4 separate regions of the Homo sapiens genome follow, and regions 1, 2 and 4 are each linked to region 3. The links are contacts of gene promoters, found by promoter capture Hi-C in blood cells and fetal thymus (Javierre and others, 2016). All regions are on one chromosome and are shown on one strand. The core of a region is centred on a gene start or on the middle of the fragment in contact, and the rest is flanking DNA. Distances in the headings are between cores, read along the strand shown.

What was found. The method cuts DNA at HindIII sites, captures the fragments that hold promoters and counts their contacts. A CHiCAGO score of 5 or more calls a contact.
Region 1: a contact is called between a fragment that was not itself captured here and the fragment with the promoter of KIF26A in region 3, in 1 of 17 cell types (endothelial precursors). The highest score is 6.5, in endothelial precursors.
Region 2: a fragment that was not itself captured here is called in contact with the fragment with the promoter of KIF26A in region 3 in 1 of 17 cell types (endothelial precursors); the score reaches 6.3 in endothelial precursors.
Region 4: a fragment that was not itself captured here is called in contact with the fragment with the promoter of KIF26A in region 3 in 1 of 17 cell types (endothelial precursors); the score reaches 6.0 in endothelial precursors.

Annotation. Positions count from the first base shown.
Region 1 is chr14:104,291,855-104,297,997 of GRCh38, reverse strand. No RefSeq gene overlaps it. Among named protein-coding and RNA genes, the nearest start is that of LINC02691, 71 kb to the right of the region's middle. RefSeq lists enhancers at 415-1,104, 2,488-3,179, 3,494-4,161, 4,162-4,830, 6,020-6,143. The HindIII fragment of the contact is 5,388 bases long and covers 113-5,500 here.
Region 2 is chr14:104,368,609-104,374,668 of GRCh38, reverse strand. No RefSeq gene overlaps it. Among named protein-coding and RNA genes, the nearest start is that of LINC02691, 150 kb to the right of the region's middle. RefSeq lists an enhancer at 4,062-4,563. The HindIII fragment of the contact is 9,349 bases long and covers 1-6,060 here.
Region 3 is chr14:104,136,871-104,143,155 of GRCh38, reverse strand. It overlaps KIF26A (kinesin family member 26A), which reads right to left and starts at 4,569. Exons shown (of 15, transcript NM_015656.2): 1 at 4,392-4,569; 2 at 3,868-4,113. The coding sequence starts at 4,433. It overlaps KIF26A-DT (KIF26A divergent transcript), which reads left to right and starts at 4,527. Exons shown (of 3, transcript NR_158217.1): 1 at 4,527-5,626; 2 at 5,914-6,285. RefSeq lists a silencer at 5,401-5,570 and enhancers at 5,267-5,978, 5,979-6,285. The HindIII fragment of the contact is 14,398 bases long and covers 1-6,285 here.
Region 4 is chr14:104,339,213-104,345,605 of GRCh38, reverse strand. No RefSeq gene overlaps it. Among named protein-coding and RNA genes, the nearest start is that of LINC02691, 120 kb to the right of the region's middle. RefSeq lists an enhancer at 2,807-3,420. The HindIII fragment of the contact is 3,681 bases long and covers 729-4,409 here.

The sequences.
Region 1 (6,143 bases), core at 1,557-4,056, 160 kb before region 3:
GCTCCCCCATCCCAGGCCTCCGGGCCCCTAAAGTCTGGGGAGCCTGGATTCAGGGAAGGACCCATCACCCCACAAGGGTCAGGCCGGGGGCAGGATGTTCCAAGCAGAAGCTTCACCCAGCCCTGTGGGGTGGCAGGAGGGAGCCCACTGAGCACAGGCAGGTCAGAGGCTGCTGCCGAAGAGCTAAGCCAGGACCATCTCTGGTCCCCAGGAGCCACCACTCAGCCTCACCCACTGTGAGGACTGGAATATTCACCCATCATAGGGCTGTCCACATGGCGAGACTCCACTCACATCCACCAGAGCCTCCCTGGCCCCCTCTCCTCCTCCTAGAGGCTCCCCAAGGCCCGAAATTACAACGAGAAAGTTTTTCCTTGGACTCTTCAAGGCAGACAGGACCTGGCATCTCCTGTGCATGTCTGTGGCCTGAGCAAGAGGGGACGTGGGACTGCGTGGGGGCTGTGACAGTTCAGCTTGCCCACCCGGCAGATGGGTCCTCTTCTCCTGTGGCCACTGAAGGCAAAGCAGGGGTGGGGGTAGGGGAGGGGGTCCCAGCCCCGTGAGGCTGAAAGTCAAGGTGGGATCACAGAGAAAGTCCAGGGACAAGATCAAGCCCTTCTGAAAAATGCATCTAGCAAGCCCCTGCCCGGCTGTGCCTCAGTTTCCAGTTTCTCTTTGGCCCTCTCCAACTGGGTGGACAAGTCTGGTGACTCCTTCCTGCATGCCAGCACCTGTCACGGCCCCTGCGGCCCTGGCTGAGGCCCCTGCTGGGTGGCCTGGGTGGACCAGCCCTGGACATGCAGCAGCTGGCTCTCGCTGCTCCCCGCCCTGCCACCTGGGTCCCTGCACCTGCCTCGAAGCATCCAGTTCTGGAGCTTTTGTCCTGGGCCTGGGAAATGGGCATTTTCTGCCCATAGGCACAAAGGAGAAACTGCAGGCAGGCACGCTTCTGGAAAGTTCCAGGGCTAAGGAGATGCCGAGTCGTTCTTCCTCACCCAGGGGTCAGGTCCTCACCACAGCCCCCACCCAGTGGCTGCCCCCGCCTCTGGCCAGGAGCCCTGCCCGCCAAGCCAAGCAAGAGGCGGGACGCGGTGACGCGATGTCTCCACTGAAAGGGTCCCGCTTCCCCTCAGAGAAGGGGCCGCACATTAATTCACTCAAGGCCGGGGATTAGTCATCGGGCAAATAAGATTAAATGCCCTTGAAATGGAATTAAAATGACGTCAAACAGCAGAATATCATTTTCCTAACAGCCCTGCAAGATGCTTCCTGCTTTAACCCCTTCCTGGCCCCATCTCAACCCCCAAGAGTGAGCTCCAAGCTCGGGAGAGGTGGCACCCACGTCTCTCTGTGCTCCTGAACCTGGCTCAGGGGCCATCGAGGAATCAACACTGAGGCTACTCCTGCCAACACCCTCCCAGGGCCTTCTGAGTCCTTCAAATATCAGATGGACCTTCAGGCCCCAGGCTACAGCTGGTAGAACTTGAGCCCCAGGCCCTGCACAGGGCGAGGGGACCTCAGCCCAGCCTAGGGCCCCGGGAATAGGGGGCCTGGGCCAGGAAGGAAGCCAGGAAGCTGAGGAGGTTCCTGGTCTCTCCCTGGCACCTCCGTGCCTTCCTTCACTCGGTTCTTTCTCCTCGTTAGCACAGCCCTGCCTGCCCTCCTGGGGAACCAGCAGGCCCTCAGCTCCTTGTTCACCACCTGCAGCTCAGGGGCCCGAGGATTCGTCTCCACTTGCAGGAATCCTCTTTTCATCTTAGAAGAGAAGAGAGGAATGATAAGGCTGGGCCCAGAGTCCCAGGGAGGACTAGGCAGGCGGGCACCAGGGCTGGGAACAGCCCCTCTCCCATGGGGCTGTCCACACAAAGCCCTCATTTCCCCAGGCCCATCTGGGGTCTGGAACCCCCTTAGAAGCCAGAAAGAGTGAACCCCACCTGGCCCACCTCAGCAGCGCAACCCAGCCAGGGAAAGGGGCAGGAACGTCTGTGCCTCCTGTGCCCCTGCCCGGGTCCCCACGCCAGGACAGCGTCTTTGCAGACATTCATGGTGACCTGCCTAGTCGGGGAACATGCCTCTCTGTAGGAGGCCCTGGCTATTAGCACCACCGAGACGACCTGCAAAGTCGCTGGAAATCTTCCTCAATCATCAGCCTTAAGCCCTGATCATCATTTCTCATTTTCACTGAAACAATCACCTGTCGGAGAGGGTGGGCTGTGAGCTGCCCATTCGTCACGCAGGGCTGCCCTGGCCAAGTGCACGCGCCGCCCGGCCAGGCTCAGGCGTGGATCAATAGGCCACGTTCAGGCCGTCAATAGCTGTAAATACATTTGCGGGATCAGTCAGGACAGCCTCCTGCCCGGCCACCATCCAGGGAGCTGCTGGGCGCAGAGTACGAGTGGGGCAAGCGGTGTGCACCCTTTACCGTCCCTGGGGTCCAGCCTGTCTGGGGCTGCGTCTGTCCCAGCTCTCCCTGCCAGTGCTTCCACTTGGGCCGTCATCCTTGCTGTGCTGAGCCTGGCTCTGCCCGGCTCTGGGACTCCAGAAATGAGCCGTGATAACAGAGGCCTGGGAAGGGCCCCTCTGTGTCCTCCTCCTTGCCTTCCGCAACCCTCAGCAACAGGCCTCGGCTCCTCCTCTCTTCTCGTGGGGTGGCCTCCCATGGCAGCCAGTCCGGCTCTGGGGACGGTGAGTTCTCTCGATTCCGAGTGGAGATAAGCCCAACCCAGCATCCTCTCAGGCTGGGGGCAGCTCTCTCCACACCTGCACCGTGCCCAGGAAGTTGGCACTGATGCCCTCTAAACATTTCTCCCGGCCTGGCACCCTGTCTCCCTCCGGCCACCGCCCAGCAGAGGGCCCCCACTAACCAGGGCCACTGTCACTCAGAGTCCAGCTCAGGAACTGGGCATTTTCCCCCCACCCATCCCCACCACAGGGCAGGGCAGGGAGGTGGGGAGTCACCTCCTTCAGCCCGGACTCCGCATTCCGGTCGGGGACAATCCTTAGTGCCAATGAGGTCCCTGGTGTCTGTCACCCACTGCTGCTGTACTCTCCTCTCCAGAGACTCAGAATCAACAGGCCGTGGAAAGAGAGATTTATTGCAGTGAATTAGCTCATACAATGATGGAGGCTGAGTCCGCAGACCTGCACCGAGTCAGTAAGCTGGAGCCCTGGGAGAGCTGATGGTGGCAAATCAGGCCGGACACCAGCAGACTCGACACCTGGGTGGAGCTGATGTTCCAGCTCAAATCTGAAAGCAGGAAAGCAGCCGCCCTCCCGGCTGCAAGGCAACCAGTTTCCTCGTCATGCCTTCATCTGATTGAGCGAGGCCCACCCGCATGGGGGAGGGACATCTGCTGTGCTCAGTCTACGGATTCCAGCCTGAATCTCATCCAGAAACACCTGCACGGACACACCCCAAATCGGAGTCCACCAAATGTCTGCAGTCGCGTGGACACATAAAATTAACCCTCACAATACCTCTCCCTCTGCCCCAAACACGCAGCTGCTTCACCCACCTTCACCTGTTCCCCCGCAATTAGCCTGTGTCCCCCAGTGCCATCCATTCTGGGCACCCTGGTCAGAAGGCCCCATCGGCTCTGCCCCTTGGGGGTCCTCAGGATTTTGACTGAGCCCCCAGGGTTGGTGGCTTACGTGCCTACCTGCATTTTCCACCAGCAGGAGGAGCAGGCTCATTGCAGCTGCATTGGAGGACGAGGGCTGAGTCTAGCCTCCTCCTTGGGACTGCAGCCTCCAAGGCAGGCTCTTCACAGGAGGGTCACCAGAGCCCTCAGCTGGGAGCTGGCACATGGCCACTTCCGGCTAAATCGAGCCCGGTGGCCAAGCCTGCCATCAATGGGGACAGTGGATGAGGAAATAGTGTTTGCTGAGCGACAATCTTCTCTCTCACAGCCGCCAGCCTCAGGACAGGGAGCACGGGAGGGAGGCAGAGGGCAGCCCTCTTGTCCTTTCTCACCCCGGGATGCAGATGACAATGACCACACTCTGGTGACCAACCAGGCTGCCCCAGCCCCTCCCAGACACTCACCCGGGCCAGGCAGCAGGAGGAAGCTCCCTGGTGCTCTCAGCTCCCAGAACAGAGGATGCCTTTGCTTTGGGAGGATGGGGTGATCCTAACCACTGCTCCGTCCTGCCTTGGAGGAGGAGGCCTGAGGGTAGGGCCCAGCTACCAACCAGGCTGCTGCTGTGGACAGCCTCCATCCTGCCCAGGGCCCCTTCCTGGCAGCCCCCTCCCTCCGTTGCTCTCTGCACTCACCTCTGCCTGGCCTTGCCCCTCCCCCGGGGTTCATCTCAGCCTGCATCTCCCAACTCTGCACCTCCCAAGACAATCTCGTTTGGGCTCTGAGTCACGCTGGGGCCTCACAGGACATCTCTGGGGATGGGTGAGCCTTGGCTGGCGTCCCCGCAGAAGCGTGACCCTCACACCTGGGCCAGCGCTCTGAGGCCCCCGGCCAGCTCACCTGCTGCTAAAAGAAGGGAAATGAAGCACTGGCTTGTTTTCAAGGGAAAAGGCCGGCAGCAGATGGCCCCTGCAGCCCCCCGGCCCCTCCAGCCCCCGGGTCCCTCCAGCCCCCGGTCCCTGCAGTCCCCTGGCCCCTGCAGCCCCCTGGCCCTCCAGGCCCCTGGCCTACTCCTGCAAGCCCTGGGGAACCGATTCTGCAGCTCCGGGCCAGAGCCTTCACCTCCAAACCAGGACAAACCAGGCAGTCTGGGGTAAGAGTGGGAGGAAGTAAAAGGCACCCATGGGCTCCTGGGAGTTGAAATAAGAATATCTCAGTCTCTTTCCATAAGGAAACCTAAAAAGAGCACAGAACATTTTGAAAATGGAAGCCAAATATTTATTAAATATTTTCGAATCCATCAGAAACCACAGATGCTGGGGAGAACAAAACCCACTTTCAGAAAGAGGTGGCGAGTCACGGGGAGAAGCGGGGAGCACGTCTGAGGGACTCTGCTCCGTGCCCAGCTGTCGACACCCCCGTTCCCACACCCCTGCCCCCCTCCCCAGCAGAGCCCCCCTCCCCAGCAGAGCCCCTCTCCCGGCCCCAGCAAGACCCCTTCCAAGGCAGGTCTGAGAAACGCAGAAACGTGATCTCTCAAAGCTGATCAACGTTGTGGACACCTGGAACAGATGACCAGAGACATCGTGCCTGTGTGCCCTGCGCCCACTCCAAACAGCCGCCCCGAGAGCTCTGCCGGGCCCCGCCCCAACACGCGGGAGCCAAAACGCTGGTGGCATGGCTGGCCCGGGGCTTTAGTAACACAAAGTGACAATGGGGTGACCAGCTCAGGGCCTCTGGATACTGGAGGACAGAGAGGCTGTGGGAAAGAGGAGGCTGCAGAGGGTGGGGTGGGCACTCCCAGGCCCTCGCTCAGGCCCTCGGCCCATGACATCAGCACCTTCTGGCCAAGGTGGAACGGTCACTGGGCGAGGGTGAGATCCAGACATGTACCTTCCAGCCAGTCCCTCACATAAGAAGCTTCCAGAAACAAGTACAGATCTAACTCTAAATTGGCAGAAGTAAGGTGGGGGGGGGGCCTGTCTTGATTTCCAGTGACTCTTGGTGAGGGCTGCGCTGGGAGGCCCTGCAGGGCCTGGCCCCAGGCAGGAGCTGAAGGCCCTTGGTGACCTCTGCCTCCAAAAGTGCCCGCCCCTCCACCTTCCTCTCTCAGCTGCCCCACCTCTCCCGCTGCCACTGCAGCCCCCTCCCTCCCCCACCCACACCGTGTGCCTTTCCTTCTCTTCCTTCTTGGGCATCTTCTGCTCCAAAACCCACCACCCGCCGGGTTCTATCAAAGGCCATAGAGCCGAACAGCAGCAAGAGCCCCCACTGATGGCGGGAGGTGGGGGGGCGGGGGGGGAGCAGGGAGGGGCGGAGGTGGAGGGGGAATGAGGTGGTGGAGGCAGAGGTGGGGAGGGATGGTTGTGCCACTCACACTTTAATACATATTTGTCCCTGACACACGCATGAGGTGTCCAGTACAGTACCCAGACCACAGCCGGCTTGCAGACATGCTAGTGGCCATTACTGAACATTTTATTGGCTGTAATTGATCGGGTGCTTCCTGTGTCCTGGACATTGTCCAGCGAGGCAGGTGCTGCCCCTCCCAGCAAGCAGGGCTCT
Region 2 (6,060 bases), core at 3,293-5,792, 230 kb before region 3:
CACTCCCCGCACCCAGCAGCACCCAGCCAGCAGGGCCCCTCCGGCCTCCCCATACCCACTTTTCCCTGATGGTGGCCTCACTGTCTGGCGTTGTCCCTCACCTGGCCCCGTCTAGCTCCACCGCCCCTGCAACAGTAGCAAACACTCAGGCTCACGTCAGCTGAGTTCCCTGCCCCCAACGTGAGGCCGAGTCTGCCCCCCCACCTTCGCCCCCGGCATTCCACTCTCCAGGGTGGGCGGCTGCACCCCTCCTCACAGCCTCGCCGATCTGGGTCCGGGGTCCTCCTCTCCCTCGGACTGTCCTCCACCTGACACCCCTCTTCTCTGCCAGCCAATGCCTGGGGTGAGGCAGGCTGAGTCTCCCCCAGGACGCCCTCCTCCTAAACCCTGGAACCTGTGAACCTGGACTTTGCAGATGCAACTAACAGAAGGACCCCGAGGTGGGAGATGGCCCCGGACGACCCAGGTGGGCGCTAAATGTTGTCACAAGGGCCTCAGAAGAGGGAGCAGGAAGGTGAGGGTGGAGACGTGAGGACAGAGGCAGAGTCGGGGGGAGGACGGAGGGGCACTCTGCTGGCCTTGAAGGTGAGGAGGGGGCGGGGGGCACCTCCGGAAGCTGGAGAAGACAAGGAACCGATCCTCCCCTGGAGCCCCCAGAAGGAGCCGCCCTGTGACCCTTGACCTTCACCCGGTGGGATGCGTTTTGGACACCCGTCCCCCAGGGCTGGAAGGCGCCAGCTCTGTGGAGCTGGAGGTGCTGCAGTGGCGGGAGCTTGTTATGGCAGCAACAGGAACCTCCTCCTGGACCACCTCAGCGGTCCTACTGTGGACACCTCGCTCCTCTGCCCTGGGACCCTCTCCAGGGCCCTCCCGTGTCCTGCCCGGGGGCTATCTGTCTGGCTTCCCCTATCGGAGGGCAGCAGAAGACCCCACCCCACCCCTGGGGAGTTGGGACTCAGATTTCAAGTCGAGTCTCTGAGGGTGCAGGGTGTGGAACAGCCCCTGGATGGTACCACAGCCTCCCACCCCACTGCCGTGGCCCTCACCTCGTCCACCCACCAGGCGCCTGATAAGACACCAGAAATGCCCTCCCTGGGGCCTCCCTCCCTCCTTCTCAGCAACCCCCAATCCGTGCAACCCAGGGAGGTGCAGGGGGTCAGGGCCCACGTGCCTTCCCTGCCGGGAGCCGCCGCTTCATCACACGTGGCCCTAACTGACAGCAGCAAAACAAACATTTGCTTTGGTGACCCACGCTGAGTGAGACGCGTGGCATTATTTTAATTAAGCCTTGCGACCAATGAATCTCAATAAAGCAGCTGTTCCAGTATTCAGGTAAATAAATAAAAATCACACCAGGAGGGCTGCTGGGCGCAGAGCTGCCACGCGCATGGGTGTGGAGTGCAGGCAGCTGCCTGGAGGACAGGGGCGCGGTCCAGGCTCACAGCACTTGAGGGCTGACTTGGGAAAAGCCATGTGGAGGAAAGGCTCCTTCCAGATCAGCCCTGATGGGACAGCTACTGCAGATCGTGACACAGACCATGAGGGCTGGCAAGACTCCTCGGACACAGGAGAGGGGCCTGGCCAGGACTCCCTTGGGAAGGAGGATGGGAGAACGCACAGGTGCCGTGTTGGCCCTGGATGGGCCATCTCCCCGTTAGGACGGCTCTCGCTCAGCCCCCAGAGAGCCCACAGGTCTATCACCAGGAACAATTCTCACAGGGAACCCGAGGCCCGTGCCTCTCAGGCCCCAGAAGCTGGAACTGGCCCGGTGCAGTCTGGGGACCAGGGGCTGCCAGCTTTGAACCGTGATGCCACTCCATGCCTGTGCAGAAGAGAAAGTGAAGCTGAAACGCCCAGGCAGCCCCAGGAAACAGGAGGAGGAGGAAGCTCTCCCGTGGGCCTGATGGGGCTCAAAGTCCTACAGTGTTAATGTCACAGTGACGGGGCCTGATTTCCCCCCAAGACTGTTGGGAGTCATGGAAGGAAACACTCAGGGAGGAGCAGGTGCGCAGAGGGCCCGTGGGCAGGGACCTGTGTGGGCAGAGTGCCTGCCTATGTGGTACCAGAAAGGTGTGGAGCCCTGTAGGGTAGTGGCTGAGGACATCCTAGGCAGTGCCTCTCCAAATATGGGTGTTTATGGGTGTGTGTGGGGGCAGCTGGGTGGTGGGGGACCCAGGAGGTCACACTGCAGCCATCCTGCCTCTCACTCTCTCGGTCCAGGCACTCCCCACAACTCCATGACCGCGACTGACCCCAGCCCCCATCCCCCTCCTATCCTTGCCAACAGAACCTGCTTGTGCCTGGGGAGCGTGGGCCTAGCCCAGTAGATGACCTGTGACTGGTCTAAGCCCATCAGGTCAACCTATTCCCTTTGCCATGGATGGGCCCAGGATAGCTATGGGACCTTGCTTGGATGTAGCCTGGGAAGTGCACTGATGGGCTTCTGAGAAAGGCTTTCCTCCTTGATGAAAGATAGACCCATACAAGGAGAAGCCACACCCACCCTTTCTCACTCTCTGCTTCAGAGGCTGTCGTGTGAGGATGGGACGCCTGGAGCAGTGGCAGCCGTCTTGTGACTGTGAGGTCAGGAGCCAGAGAACAAGTAGCCAACATTCAAGGATGACTGAGGGAAAGGAGCCAGGGCCCTGGGTGATGTCATTACCTCCTTCTCAACGCCGGTGCCACCCACCTCCAGGCTCCTTTCATGAATGTATTAGATTCTCGTGGCTGCTGAAAAAAAATTAAACTATCACAAATTTAGTGGTTTAAGACAACAGAACTGTATTCTCACACAGGTCTCGAGGTAGAAGTCTGCAACAGCTTTCATGGGGATGCAATAAGGTGCAGTGGGCCAGGCTCCCTCCAGAGGCCCCGGGCAGTCAGTCCTGGCCTCCCCCAGCCCCCTTGGCACTCAGTGGTCCTTGGCTGTGGCCCTATCACTGCACTCTCCATCTCCGGGACACATCCCCTTCTCTCTTCTGTTCTCTGTCAAATTTTCCTCTGCCTCGTGGTTACATTGAAGACTCACCAGGATAACCCAGGCTGCTCTCCGCATCGCCAGATCCTTGAGAGGCAAAGCCCCCTTTCCACGTGAGATCCATCCACAGGGCCCTGGGGCTAGAACCCGGGGTCCTTGGGAACTCCTTTCCATTCACTCCCATGAGGTAGTTAAGCGCCCACTGTATTTGACCACCGTTGGTCCAGCTTTCTGTTCCTTGAGCCGTGAGGTTCGGATGAGAGAACTCCTCATCTGCAGAGAGGAGATAGCAGGACCTCCACCCTGGAGTGCGGGGAGCAAGCAAGAAGCACGGAGGGGCTCAGCAAACTCAGCACCTGTGAATGAGAGAGCCGCCCTCTACGGCCCCTCTAAGGCGGTTCAGGACGCGCTGTGAGTGTGAACCGCCTGGCAGCGTAAGTGAGTGCCTGGCCTGGCTGCATCTCCAGGGTGCAGCCTCGCAGCCCTCGCTCCCACCCTCAGTCTGGGGTGAGAAGCCCCTTTGAATGCAGCTTGCAGCCCACTTCAGAAGGCGCTGGGACAGGGCTTTCCCCTGCAGGGTCTATTCCCAGGGAAAGTTCCAGGTTTCTCCTGTGCACGCCCCTCCCTCCATCCTGGCTCGGTCCCCAGCATCAGCAGCGGCACCCGGAGCAGCATGGCGGGCTCCATCCATTACCTCCTGCCCGTTAATCGAGCGGATCATGATCTGCAAAATTGGGCGGAAGTTATATTAAGTAGTTTGGCGGTTAAATCTGACACTGTTGATATTTCTCTTCAAAAATAATTAAGAGCCTCCTTCATTGACGAGATCACGTCTTGCAGTCATAATGTGCTTAATATTTTTATCACAAGCCATTTAACTTGAGGCTTTGCTGAAACTCATTGCGACATGCAGAGTTTACTTGAGACTCCCGCGAGCTCAGGTGTTGCTGAAGGACCCGTGCGGTATCCAACGCAGGACAGCGCCTGGGCCCGCCAGGCCACTCCTGACAAAATCCCAAGAGGATGGTTGTTGAAATGCACGGCCACCCTCCCCACACCCCGCGCTGTGGAAAGAGCGTGAAGACGGCAGGTGCTGTCCCACAGCAGCTGAAGGACACTGGCCCAGCTGGGGCCTGGAGGGAGCAGGGCAGAGAGGCTGTCAGCTCCTGGAACCCTCAGCCCCAAAGGTCCCTTCCCTCCCGGGTCCATTTCTCTGCTAAAGATGAGCCGTCCCTCTAGTGGCTGTCCCCTGGCTGCCAGTAGATGGTGCACATTGAAGGTGTGTGTTTGCTGTGGCTGCCGTAGCTCAGAGGCTTGAAACAACAGGCACTTACTCCCCCACAGTCCTGGAGGCTGGAGTCCGAAATCCAGGTGTGCCGGACCCCTCCCTCTGCACGCTCTGGGGGAGGATCCTTCCCCGCCCTCCCAGCTTCAGTGGCCCCGGGCATCCGTGGTGTGTGTCCACGTCCCTCCATCTCTGCCTCCGTCTTCACGTGGCCTCCCCCTGTGTGTCTCTCATGGGGATGCCTGTCCTTGGATTTAGGGCCTGGGTAATCTCATCCCAAGATCCTTACTTACCTTATTAAATCTGCAAACGCTCTCGTTTGAACTAAGACCTCATTGCCTGGTCCTCAGGCTTTGGGTCCATGAACACAGATGTTTGGGGGCTACCATGCCACCCGCTACAGGAAAGGTGCCACAACTATTTAATGAATGGGCAAATGAACCGATAAAGGTGACTGGAGGCCACCTCCTGGCCAGGATGTCGATGGCTTTACGATTGAAGGAGAGAAGGAAAGAGTCTGGTCCCATCACCCATGGGAGATGGGGAAACTGAGGCTCCTTGAAGGGCAGTGGCTTTCCCAGGGTCACCCTGCAGATTTTGGTGGTGGGGATCGGGTTAGGATCACAGCGGGGTGCCCCTCCTGCCCCTTCGAGGGCGGGGCTCTGTCTGGAGGCCCTGCTTAGACGCTGCACTGCCAAGAATCTGGGGAAGGAGCTGAGGGAGACTGGGGGTGGGGTGAGGGGAGGGAGAGATGGAGGAAAGCTCCGTTTGTGATTGACAGTGACCAGTAACTTGCAGGTCCCAGAGAAAAGCCCCTCTCCCCCAATCCCCACATCCAGCCCTCTCCTGAGACCCTGGTGGGGCTGGGCCTGGCTCGGCGGGGCTCCATGCATCTCCACGGATAAATCCACCCGTTCCCTGGAGAAGATTGCACCAGGGGAGTGTGGACTTCTGGGGTACACGGGAAAAGCCATCCTGTGTCCCCACTGCAACAAGCCCCCACTTGCCTGGGGCCACCGTGCAGAGCAGATTCATGCTCCCTTTCAGTGGACCTGCACCCTGCCCCACCTCCACGCAGCATCTTCCTGGCTACAGGGGGAACCTGCTCCTCTGCCGATCCCTCAGACCCCAGTCAGAGACCCCAGATAAGCCATGTCAAGATCCCTGACCACCAGAAACTGGAAATAATCAATGTGTGTTGTTTTCAGATGCTAAGTTTGGGGCAATTTGTGACACAGCAGTTGACAGCTCATTCAGGGCTGAGCGCTGCCTCCCCCTCAGGCAGGCTCCGCCCTGGGGGCAGCAGGTCACTGGGGAGGCTTGAGGGCAGGGGGCCTCACCCTCCAGGTGCCAGCCCTGGGCGAGGCCTGGGCTCAGGAGGGGTCCCATTTCCATTCCTCCAGAGGAGGGGAGCAGATGGAGCTGGGGCGAGACTGCTGTGCCCGGCACACACCGCCACAGACCCTGGGCCACTGCCCCTCCATGCAGCCCCCCACAGCCATTGCCAGGGGCCCTAACTGGGAGGCTCTGTGGGGGTCCCTGCTCTGGTTGACGGTCACGCACTCTGGGACCACAGGAGCCCCCACACCCGCTGCTGGTCGCCTGAACCTCGAGCCTCACAGCCCACCACTGCCCCTCCACATGCAGGACCCCCTCGTCACATGTCAGCATGTCCTGGAGAAGCTGCCACTCGTGGTGGTCTGGCGTCAGAGCCAGGTGCTGGCACATTTCCACACAATGAAATCATTGTGCAAATCAGATCCAGGCCTCACGCAAGAAAAAACAGGAGCCGCTCCTC
Region 3 (6,285 bases), core at 3,320-5,819:
GATGCACGGGAGCTAAATGAGAATTGATCATTTTCCCCATCGGGGGCGATAATCAATTCAGCACCGGTACTGACGCTTCAAATGTCACGGGGTCTCAGGAGGAGTCAACACCTCACATGACGTGTCTGTCAGCAGCTGGAATGGATCCCCAAGCAGGGACCCTCTCCTTGAAGCAGGGAACCATCCTTTGTGGGGGAGGGGGATGGTCATCCTCCATGGGAACTGTCATTTTGAGGGGCGGATAGCCGGAATCCAGCCCCAGCAGTCCCGGGGGTGACCACCAGCAAGTGGGGTGTGGGAGGAAAAGCCTGGTCATTCAGTCATTCAACAAACACCTCCAGGTGACCCGGACCCCATGCCTGACCTGGCAGAGCTCCTGCTTGTGGGGGAAACCAGGACTGGGGTCAGGGAGAGGGAAGAGGTCTGCCACAACAGTTTGCGGTGGTGGGTGAGCATGGGGAAGCGAGGGGGGCCTTAGATGTGGAGAAAGAGGGAGGCCCCAGCTTTGCCTGCTGAATGGGAGGCACCAGGCTGCAACCTCCCACAGGGACATCTCAGAGTTGGGGGCACCTGAGAAGGGGCCCCTGAGGCCAGAGCAGGGACACTGAGGGGCCTCCAGCCCAGGGAGGCCAGGGGGTCTTGGGATGAGGACAGCATCTATGGCAGGGCAGACAGAGCAGCCCATTAGAGAAAGGTCCCTGGAGGCCACAGGAGGCCAGGCCACAGGGGGCCGCTCCAGGCCATGGGGGTCCTGAAGTAGTCAGCCCGGAGACAAGGCCTGAGGACCCTGGTGAGAGCAGAGGGCACAGTGTGGGGACACAGTGAGGAGCAGGAGCCACGGCCAGAGTCCCATCATGGGGCTTCCCCTCCACACCCAGGGCCAAGCACCCTTCTCAGATCAGGAAAGACAATCCCCTGGGGCTCCAACAGGGGCAGGAAGACAATGTCCCCCTCCCCTACGGCCCCAGACGGGGCACCAGAGCTCAGAAAGGTGGGGAGGGCACAGTCTTATCCATGCCACAGGGATGAGGTCCCCAGATAGGGGACCATGGTCACCCTCACTGCCCAGACAAGGGAACTGAGACAGGCTCAGGCAGACAAGAGCACACAGCAAGGGAGAGGTAGGCCGGGAACCTGGGCTCCAACAGCCCCAGGGACTCGGAGTCCCTAACTCAGCAAACAGCAGCAGCAGCTGCCAAGGTGAGAGTGCATCCCTTCCGGGCACTGCTCTACGTACCTATGCAATGGGCACAAAGACGGTCCCATGTCGCAGAGCAGGAAACAGTGGCCAAGAACTCTCGGGAACCTGCTCAGGGGAGCTGCCTCCTGGCAGGAGGGTGGGCAAGGGCCCAGCAGGGGATGAGCATAGGCAGGACCATGCAGGCATCGGGTGTTGCTAAAGAGCAACACATTCAAGGAGACCCTGGCAGGCTGGGCCCGACCCTCTACGCCTCCCTCTACAACGGAGACAGGCAGGGAGACCCCGGCAGGCTGGGCCCCGACCCTCTACGCCTCCCTCTACAACGGAGACAGGCAGGGAGACCCTGGCAGGCTGGGCCCCGACCCTCTACGCCTCCCTCTACAACGGAGACAGGCAGGGAGACCCTGGCAGGCTGGGCCCCGACCCTCTACGCCTCCCTCTACAACGGAGACAGGCAGGAAGCCCGGAGGCGAGGGCCTCTAATAGCCAGGCCGGGTCCCAGCAAGTCTCTCCACTTCTCTGGGCTTCTGAAGATCCAAGCATGAGACAGATGGATGATTGTGAAGTTCCCTGTAAACAGCTATCCTCAAGGAAGCTCATCTCTCCCCTAAAAAATACGAAACGGGCCCCTGGGGAAATCCTAGAACACCAACCCTAAATACCCCTTGCCACGTTGGCCTTACAGAGCAGAGGCCAGGGCCCACTGGACAGTGCACCAGACTCCGGGGAGCACACTGGGGTCTCCCTGGCCACCCCAGAGATTTCCCTCCCAACCCAAACACAGAAGCAGCCATGTCCACACATCTGGGCCCAGCGGGCCAGGCCAGGGCTGCAGGCTGCAATTTTGCTGGGACTCTGGGGACAGCCCAGGCCCGCACAGGGGACAGGACAATGACACCCGTAAGGCCCCAGGATGGCAGGTGCAGCCCCCCATGCCCTGTGGAGAGACAGTGGAGGATGGGGTCTTCTCTCCCGGGGGCACAGCACCCTGCAGGTGGGACAGCACTTCACAACAGGCCCCAGGTGACAGAGGAGACCACAAAGCAGAAGAAGGGGGCCCAGAGCAGAACAAAGCCCTGGCTGAGACCAGCCCGGGACCCCGGTGTGCTGAGTGCCAGCGCCAGCTAGGGAAGGGGGAGCCCCCAGCTGGCACTCAAGAGGAGTTTCCAGTGTCAAAGGCCAAGCTCAGGGGAGGCTGGAGATGGGTGGTCTGGGGCTCCCCTGAAGACCTGTCTGCCAGAAGAGACCAAGACACCCCCCTAGATGAGGAACCTAGAATCCACCAGGGACTAGTATCACCTGCAGCCCTCTCCACTAGGACCCCTGGCCTGCCCGTGACCAGGAGCCCCCTCCCCTCCACGAGTCCATGCCAGGACCATGGCCCCAGGGCCAGGCAGCATCAGCAGTCCAAGCCCACTCCAAGAATGAGGAGACCAGCTCAATCTTAATGCCCCTCCTGTCTCTGGCGTGTTTCCCCTAATGGGGCAGCAAGATGGGCCTTTAGCTCTGGCTGGCCCTCTCCAGGGGGCCCTCAAGGGTCTCCTGCTACCTTTTAAACTAGATACAGGCCACTGGGGCACAGAGTATGGCCAAGGCTGCAGCCTGTCCAGAGCAGAGGACAGGGCGGGTCCAGCCCCACCCCAGGACAGGCCCACAGGCGCCTGGCCTGAGCCAGAGAGAGGCTACAGCAATCCTATCCCTCGCCGAGACTCCAGAGAGCCCGGAGACGGTGCCCAGGACAGAAACCAGACTGGTACCCTGCCCCACCCTGCCCTGCCCCAGACAGGGCAGTCAGGGTCTCAGCTCACTCCAACCCCCACAGCCCTTAGAGAACTATATTTAGATTCAATGGGGATTATGCGGACTTCCCAGGAACTCTTTCATAAAGGCTGAAGGCCCGGCAGCGGGCTTCCTCTGGAGACCCCCACCCGCCCCCAGCCTTTGCAAACTTCCAGCATGCATTGTTCCTGGAACAATGGTCCCTGCTCCCTCCAAAGCCGGCAGGCCCACTGGCTGGAAATCCAGGAGAACCCCTCCCCTGCAAGCACCTGCCCCTGGGGCTGGAGCCTGGGGAACCCAGAGGGCCCCGACTCAATTCCCCATGGGCGGCCACTGCCTCAGTCTATCCCAGGAGGTATGGGACAACAGTTCTTATCCTTGAGGCTGGGAGAGGAGTAGGCAGGGACCCCCCAGCTGCTGTGGCCCACCCTTTCACCTGCCAGGCCCCCCGGCCCCAGGTATGTAATTTCCAGACACCTGGCTGGGGGCCCAGGTGCCCCAAGGGCCACAATGCACCAAATAACCTCTCCCTGCTGGTAGGGCTGGAGCTGTCCCGCCCTGGGTGGAGTCCCTGCCATCCGCTCTCTCCCCTCCTCCTCCCACACAAACCTGCGTTCCAGCTGTGGGACATCTGGGCTGGGGGAGGAACGCCAGCCCAGGCCCCTCCCATCCGAGGCAGCAGGGCCCCTCGGGCTGAGCTCCCTAGCTCACACATGGTGTTACAGACCGGGAAACTGAGGCCCGCAGAAGGGAAGTCCTGGCTGATAACTCTTTGTGGAAACAGCAGCAGGGAAGGAGTGGAACCCTGCTTCCCTCCAAGCCCCAAGTTCTACCCAAGTTCGGCGTGGCCCTGCTCGGAGGGGTCGGCCTAAGGAAGTGTCACTTACCCGGAGGGTGGTCCCGGGCCCGCTGACCAGCTTCCACGCCTGTCGCTTGAGCTCCACCAGCTTCGTGTGGCAGTGGCGGCACCAGCCGCCTCCGCCGGCCGAGTGGCCCTGCTCTGGGCCGGCCCCGGCGCCTTCGGGAGCAGGGCGGCTGCCGCATGGGTCCTGGTCGGGCCCGGCGGGTAGCCTCTTTCGGGGGGACACCTCCAGCAGCGGCGGCGGCTCGCGGGCCGGGCCGCCCTCGGCCACCTGCAGGGTGTGGGGGCGGAAGCGGACAGTGAGCCTGGGACGTCCGTCGGATCCAGACCCCTGCGCGCCCTGCCCCAGCGTGACGCTCTTGCCAAAGTTAGGAGCCCTGGGCACGACCCTGGCGCTCACCCACTCCCTCCATCCCCGGAGGTCCCGCCTGCGGGTCCGCTACCCTCAGCAGGAGGCCCGGCCCCCAGGGATCCAGCGCACACCGCGAGTATCTTCGCCGTCCCGGGCCCCCGCCGCCCGCCTCCCTCTCCAGGCCGGGCCGCGCGTACCGCGGGCTGCGCAGCGCACAGAGGGACGCCGCGGCCGACCATGGCCGGGGCGCGGGAAGAGCCCGGCAGGCGCTCCCGGCCACGCTGGCTCTCCGGGGGCGCCGCGGCTACGTGATCCGGCCCCGAGGCGCCCCCATGGCCCGGCCCAGCCGCTCGGAAGTTCGCAGAGCCTGCGAGTGTCGCGAGGAGCGCGGTGGCTCCGGTGGGCGCGCTCGGGAGGCGAGGGCGGGGCCGGGGAAGGGCGGGGCTCGGGCTCCCGGGGCGGGCGGCGAGGGGCGGGAGCCCAGAGAGTGCCCCGCCCTTGCCCAGTGCTGGGCGGCGCGTGGGGGGGGTAGGGTCCCCGCTTCCCCACGCGGCCCCGCGCACTCCAAGGACCCCAACCTGTTAGGTGAGTCCCTGCCCCGGGGAGGGGCGCTGGGGGCGGCGGCGAGGATCTAGTTGCGCGCGCGCATGCGCCTCCCGCCCCTCTCCCGGGACACCAGGGCTGCGCGTCTCCCAGGAGGCGCCGACGCCCCTCCCTCTACAGGCGGGAAAACTGAGGCTGCGGAGGGGACGCTCTTGCCCAAGGCCCACGGCGAGGTGGGCCGAGGAAGGGGCGGGACCCCGGCCCCGAGACTCCCAGGCGCCTTTCCAGCAAGCCCAGCGTACTCTGCGTGTCGCGGGCCACTTTAGGTCTAACTGTCGCGCGTGGGTTAGTGTCGCCGCGGTGTGCGCCTCGAGCCGGGCAGCGACCGCGCCGGCGTATCTGTGCCTCGGCGCGTCTGCGAACGGCACGTGTCTTTACAGCCGCGCGTGTGCCCGCAAGTGGGTGTGCGCGCCGTGCCGCCCGGGAAGCGGGAGGTCCTGCGGGCGTGCGCCGGACCTGTTGTCAGCAGGCCTGGCAGATGGGAACTCAGCTCCGGAATTAATTGCTTGTTTGTCTCCGGCTGGGAGGCCGCCCCCCCGCCCTTCCCTGGCGACCAGTTGCTCTGTGCCTAGCCGGGCCCCAAATGTCGCCGGCATCCGCGGCCGCAGGCAGCTCCGGGCCAGGCTCCGGGTCAGCCCCAAAGCCCGGGTCAAGCCAGGCGGGCGCGGCGGGCGGGCTCCCCGTGACGCGAGTGCCCCCTGCCGGCCGCTGCGCACACGGCTCCGAGACTGGGGAGACAGCGCCGCGCGTCCCAGGCCTGAGGCGCACTCGGAAACTCCGAAGGTCGTGACCCGGCGGAGACCAGGACACGCGGCTGCCGGCACATACGGTGAGGCCTTCGCAGAGACTCAGTACGTCAAAGTGACCCTTTCCGTTTTGCCCACCCCCTTTTACTTGGATAAGCCTCCCCGCCCACGCACGCACTCCCCAGAAAGTGGGGTGGGTGATCCCCTCCCGGCTTTCCGGGTCGTTGATGACCTTAGGGGTTCGAAAACGCAAGGGGGTATGGAATAAAGTGGCAGGGGCTCTCCACTCTTTCTGAGATCCGTAAGCCTGCAGTCGCTTTCCACCCAGCCTGGGGGGCCGGAAGCGCTTCCCCTACCCGTCTCTTCGCAGCCTGGAGAATGAAAACGGGCGTCAGCCCACATCTGGATCTGGGTACTGAGGACAACACCCAAACCCCACCCCGCACTGCCGGCAGACAGCACCGCCTCCCGCCGCTCCACTGCTCCGGGACACACACTCTCTATATCCCGTCCCCCCACCCACACACGCAACACAGAAGCACGCAGCGGTCGGGAGCACCGGTCCTGCGCCCCTGGCCAGCCACACCCGCAACTTCAGCGCTTCTACCGCCGCGGCGCTTCGGGAAGCACAAGCTCACATCCCATATCCGCAGAACACGGGGTGCACAAGGCTGGAGTCACCTCGGGGGCTCACGATCAGTCAGGGGCCCCGACCCCCTACTTCGCCCATCCTAGCAAGGCG
Region 4 (6,393 bases), core at 1,320-3,819, 200 kb before region 3:
ATCCCTCCATGTGGGCAGGTCACAGATATCTTTCTGTTGCCTTCATGTCTGGGTCATGCCTCTCCCTGGAGGCTCAGGGCTGGGATTCAGCCTCATGCTGGCTTCAGGCAGGTGCAGCTTGGACTTCCCCCAGCAGGTGCTTGCACTGCTGGTGGCACTGTGAGCTGGTGGCACGTGAGCAGCACATAGCTTCTAGGATGCAATTTGCAACACATGGCGAGAGCAATAGCAAGGGCTCCTCTATCAGGTAATTGCAATTCATGGGAACTTATCCTGAGAAAATTGCTCCCCCGATTGGAAAAATTTTGCCACTAAGGCGCCCCTCTCCATGGTGTCTGGAGGAGTGATGTGTTGACAGCCTGAGTGTGCAATGTGCAGAAGAGTCTGGGAAGGCACCCATCAGGCAGTCGATAGCACTTGGGCAGCGCTAGTGAAAAATCAGAAGATCTAATGGAAACGTGGGCAACTGGTATCCAAAAGGAGGGAAGCCAGCAGGACACAGAAGCCATTTGTCCTGCAAGTGCAGCGATGATAAATGTGCTGTGTGGACATTGCCTCGAAGGGGATGTACAACCAATTCATTCGTTTGTTTACTCAACAAATATTTATTGAGCACCTCCTACATGCCAGACACTATTCTTTATGCTAAAGATTTGGCAGGAAAAGAAATGCAGACAAATCTTTCTGTTTGCATGGAGCTTGCATCGCAGGGGAAAGAGCAGAAAGCTTACTCACAAATGAATAGATCATGCTGGGTGATGATCAGTGATACAAAGGAAGGACAAGGAAGATTTTCCTTGGTAGGGTGAAAGGCCGAGAGAGATGGAGGCACAGAGGTATGGTGGGGAAGAGAGACCTTCCCACGAAGGTGGCATCCAAGTTGACTCCAACTAATGAGGAAGAGTGCGGGCTGGTGTTCTCACCATCGTTGTTTGAGGTCCTGGGCTGATGCCTCCCTCGGGAGTGTGCTCACCTCATGGCCCCAGACTGAGGCTTCTGTCTGGGCACCTGCCCAGGCACCTTGTGTCTGCACATCTGGTGCCAGCTGCCTCTGCAGCCAGAATCGGGGCTCTGTGCACATGGGACATCTGCATGGGAGCCCAACGCAGGCTTGTAGAAGTGACTTCAGAGTCACTCCAGTCTAGTAGGACAGGGAGGGATCCTGCAGGAACCTGGAGTTGGAGGAGGCTGGAAGAGTCTGCAGAGGTTGGGGGTGGGAGACTGGAGCTTGGCAGGTGCAATACAGATCTGTGGGCAGGAGCTGGAAGGTGCCAGATCTGTGCAGGGGAGAGGAAAAAGGCCTGACTTCAGCCCAGGGTCCTCCAGGGACTCACAGAGGGTGCAGCCTGACAGAGGAGGCCTCTGGGAACTGGAGGGTGAGGGTGACCCTGCCCTGATGTGCCACCTGGAGTCGATGGAGGTGTGGGCAGGCACGGCTGAGCACCACCCTGCAGGACAGTTACTCAGAGGACTATGGGGCTGGCGCCTGCCTCCCCAGGGATGTGAGCCTGGAGCTCCCCAAGTGTCTCCAGCCCCTGTTGTGGCATCTGGCACTGAGCACATGCTCCAGAAGTATGTGTGGAATGTGCGCCTGCTCCTAGGCTGCTCACAGGATCCCTTGTCAGCATGGCCCTGGGTCCAGGGCGCTGGGCTGGGGGTCCCCAGGAGAAGGGGTGTGGCAGAGATGGGAGAAAGCAGAACATCTCACGGGGAAGCAGACCGCATGCATTTGCTGGGCTTCTTCCTTCCCCTCACACCCCCAGCGCCCCCCTCAGCCACCCAACACACTGTCTCTGAGAGGCACAAAGGCTGACCTGCAGCACCAGCTCATACCACAGACAGGGAACCCAGGCTCAGAGAGGGCAGGCCATCACCCGAGGTCACACAGAAAACCCACAGTGGCAGCCCCTTCTCCTCGTCTCTCCTTCAACTCCCTGAGGCTCTTCCAGGCTCTGCTGATTTCTCTGGAAAGTGGGTGTCAGGATGGTGTTAAACTCAGCAGTGGTGGGGGCCAGAATGAGAGGATTCAGGAAGGGGTTAAGCCCTCTGTTCTCTCCCTACATCAGCCGCAGAGCTCTGCACTCAGTGCAAACAACCCAGACCCACAAGGACAGGAGGTGTGGGTGCCGGGACTCCTGGCAGGTTGTCTGGCAATTCGGGCAGTGAGTCCTCGGAGGGACAGAGGGCCTCCAGCTGGAGGGTTGGTCTTGCTGGTCTGGGTGCCAATGACTGCTGTGGCCTTCCCACGCCAGGGACCTCCGGCCTCCCCAGCTTCCACTCACCTCTCCTGGGCCCTGCAGACAGGAGCAGGAGGGGCAGCCGCAGCCCATTGGTGAGTCAATGGGCCTTGCCTGGGCCACTCACCCCAACTCCCCACCTCGTTAGGCAGCCAGTGAGCAGCCAGCCTGTCGGCCCAGCAAATTGGCACAAACAGCCTTATTACCTGACTAATTAGAGCCCAGAGGCCCGGCCAGCGCCCCCTGCCCACCTCCTCTGCAATCAGTCCCAGTGAGTAACTGCTTGAACAAGTGCTTTGAAGGCAAATCTGTGGTGTCCCCCGGAGCCATTTCCCAGGTGTATTTCAAACCGGCCGCCATCCTTCCTCTAGGAGGCCTCACGCCTGCCCTGCCCCTCCTCCCTGGGCCAAGCAAAAGGTCCAAGCCCAGGACCCCATGGGTTTCTTCAAATAGATTCAGCACAGACTGGGTGGACAGCGCCAGGCCCGGTGATCAACTCAGCCAGGGCTCAGATCTGTGACATGGGGGTCACCATGCAGGGCTTCCTTACAGGGCTGGGCAGGTAGGAGCACGCATTTCAGGCACCTGGCACCCAGCACATCGTCAAAGGGGCAGGTGAGGGGACAGCCTACTTAGTGGTCTGAGGAGTTAGAGGGTCAGAGCGTGGAGCTCGGGGAGGCAGGATTGCACGCACCCACACGGAGCTCGGCTTTCTCATCAAGGATGTGAACACAGTGCCTGCTCCCCTCAGCCTCTGCAGCAGCAAGACACAGGAACATTGCCCTGAGCCATCTGGGCCCCTAGGGACCCGGACGGGCCTTTGTAAACTTGACTTTCCCTGACCTGAATTTCAGATCCCCTCGGCTCTGACAGTGTCCAATAAATAACTCCACCCTGCATGAGCGATAGCAAACCCCAGAATGGCTTTAATTTTGCAGGGTGATAAATTAAATGCAATGTCTGCCTCGTGTGCGCGATTAAACTCTTTTTACAGCGTTTTCATGTTGCTTTATGACTGGACCACTGCACCTCTTGAAATTCTTGGCAGAGTCCGCTGCAGTCAGGCAGCTCCTCCAGGCCAGTGCAGGTCACATGGGTGGTGAGTCCCGCCCCTCCCCGCCCCGCCCCGCCCCGCCCCTTACTGGATGCGTCCTTGGGAACCGCAGGTGGTGCCAGCTGGGTCCAGGGCGGTGAACTGGGGCCCGGAGTGCTCCTCCAGCCTGCAGGTGGCGCTGCAGGCGATCTCCATAAGCGCGGAGGGCAATTCACCGGCTCCGGACCTGAGTTCTCCATTTCGGCATTCCACGTTTGGAATTCCATACTTTGCCTCTGACCTTTATTTTCCTCTTCCTTTCTGACCTTCATGTGAATTAGACATTTTTTATTCCTGATTTTTCCTTCTGTACCGGGTTGGAGGTTGTGTGTACTATTCACATTGTCTCAGTAGTTGCTGTGGTCTGAATCCTTGCATCCCCCCAATATTCATATGTTGAAGCCTAACCCCCATGCAATAGTATCAAGAGGTGATGAGGCCTTTGGGAGGTGATTAGTGCCCTTGCAGAAGGGGCTGGAGGGAGCTTGTTTCCGGCTTCTGCGTTATGAGAACACAGGGAGAAGTCATCATCTGTGAGAAACCGGCGCACCAGTCACTGAATTTGCTGACACCTCCATCTTGGACTTCCCAGGCCCTAGAACTGTAAGCAATAAATATCTGCTGTTTATAAATTGCCTGGTCTGAGGTATTTTGATATAGTAGCCTGCATGCACTAAGGCAGTTGTTACTCATAATTTTAATAGGCTTTTTTACAAAGTCAAAAGTTAACCAAAGGGCCAGTCCAGTTTCAGTAAAGCAAAGAAATAAATGCATGAGGAAAGAAAAGAGAAAATGTGATCATGGTCTGCAGATAATATGATTGTTTAAGTAGAAGGGAAAAAAACTAATACTAATTAGAATGAAGATAGTTAGCAAGTTTGCTGGGCACAAAATCAATACCCCAATCCAACTGCATTTCAATACAATCACAATCTATACAAACCGATTTCTATACCAACCATGGTCTTAAAATATAAATTTTAAAATGTCATTTACCCTAGCAATTAAAAATATTGAATACCTAAGAATAAAACCAACAACAGATGTGCAAACACGTTATGGGAAAAATAATGAAAGCTTTATTCAAAGACATTAAAGAAGGTGTAAGTAAAAGGAGAGATGTATCATATATTTTATAAAGAAACATACTATGTACTTCATCACCATGTCAGTTTTCCCCAAATTGACCTAAAGATTTAACACACTTAAACAAAAATCACAAGAGGTTTTTTCATGTAAGAGCAAAGGACTAAGATTAGCCAAGATGCTCTTGAAGAAGAAAGCAAGCTGGGACCTATGCAACACAGCAGGACTTAGCACAGAGCTGAAGTCATTAAACTGTATGGTATGGGTGCAGATATGGACAAAAAGACCAACAGAAGATTACTGAGAACACAGAAAAATATATACTAATGGAAACTTGAAGTATAACTGACAGAATAAACAGTGCAGATCAGTGTAGAAAGGATGTTTTTTGATAAGATGCTGGGAAACTTGCTCTCCATACATTTTTTAAGTAGAGAAAATGAATCCCTACCTCACATCATACTCAGAAATAAATCCCAAATGATCAAAGATTTAAACATGAAAGGCATAACTAAAAAGACTGTTGAAGAGGGAAGGGCTTCTCAAGACACAAAAAGAGCAAAGCGTGAAGGGAAAGCTGTAACAAAAGGCAATTTTATTAAAATTAAGAAATTCAATTCAGCAAAAGAAACCATTTAAAAAGTGAAAACGAAGGCTGAGGACAGTGACTCACACCTATAATCCCAACACTTTGGGAGCCTGAGGTGGGAGGACTGCTTGAACCTGGGGATTCAAGACAAGCTTGGGCAACATAGCAAGACCCCTTCTCTACAAAAAGCAATAACAACAACAAAAAGTGAAAAGACAAGTCACAGGCTACGAGAAAGTATCTGCAACACATCTAACTGACCAACAGAATACAAAAAATATGAAGAGCTTTTACAAATCGATAAGAGAAGGCAAAAATCCCCGTGGGAAGAAATGGACAAAAAATTTGAACTAGCATTTCACAGAAGAGGAAATACACAGATTCATAAACATTTGGAAGTAAGTTCAACCTCTTCAGTAATCAAAGAAATGCCTTTGTTTGTTTGTTTGTTTTTGTTTTGGTTGAGATGGGGTCTATCTGTCATCCAGGCTGGAGTGCAGGGGCACAATCATAGCTCACCACAGCCTCAATCCCCCAGGCTCAAGCAATTGTCCTGCCCCAGCCTCCCAAGAAGCTGGGATTACAGACATGCACTGCCACTCACTGCTAATTTTCAAAAAGTTTTGTAGAGACAGGGTCTCACTATGCTGCCCAGGCTGGTCTTGAACTCTTGAGCTCAAGTGATCCTCCTGCCTTGGCCTCCCAAAGTGCTGGGATTACAAGCTTGAGCCACTGTGCCTACTCAGAAATGCCTTTTGAAAATCCTCTAGGGAATTCTGATTGTGATCATAGACTGAACATATGCATCTCACTTTCTCTCCACACTCCTACTAAAACTATAATGAGAGGTTTTTTAATGACATAAACTCTTAGGGATGAGAAGAACACAACAGGAAGAGGGGAAGTGTACTTTATGACAGACTAAATCATAAACAACTAACAGTAAACAGTAAAACACAACAAAATTTTGGAAGCTGGAAAGCAGATAGACAAGTGCTAACTGCCTTAGCAGACTTGAGAAAGACAACTCCTGAGCCAGCAAGGGAAAAACTGTGAATAAGTCTGATTTGCTCCCAAGAATATTTAAAATCTCAGGAACTGGCAGCAGCAGGTGTCTCTAGGACTGACGATGAAGGGGGAGTGGCAGAGCCAGGACTAGGATGAGGCTAACAAGATGCCAGAGCACAACACTTAAGGAGCAACATCCTTAGCCATTAGAGAAGTGCAAATTCAGACCATGATGAGATACCACTACATACCAGTTGAACACCTAAAATGAATAGTGATAATACCAAATGCTGGGGAGGATGTGGAGAAACTGGAGATCACTCATACATTGCTGGTGAGAATTTAAGGTAGTACAACCACCTGGAAAACAGTCTGGCAAT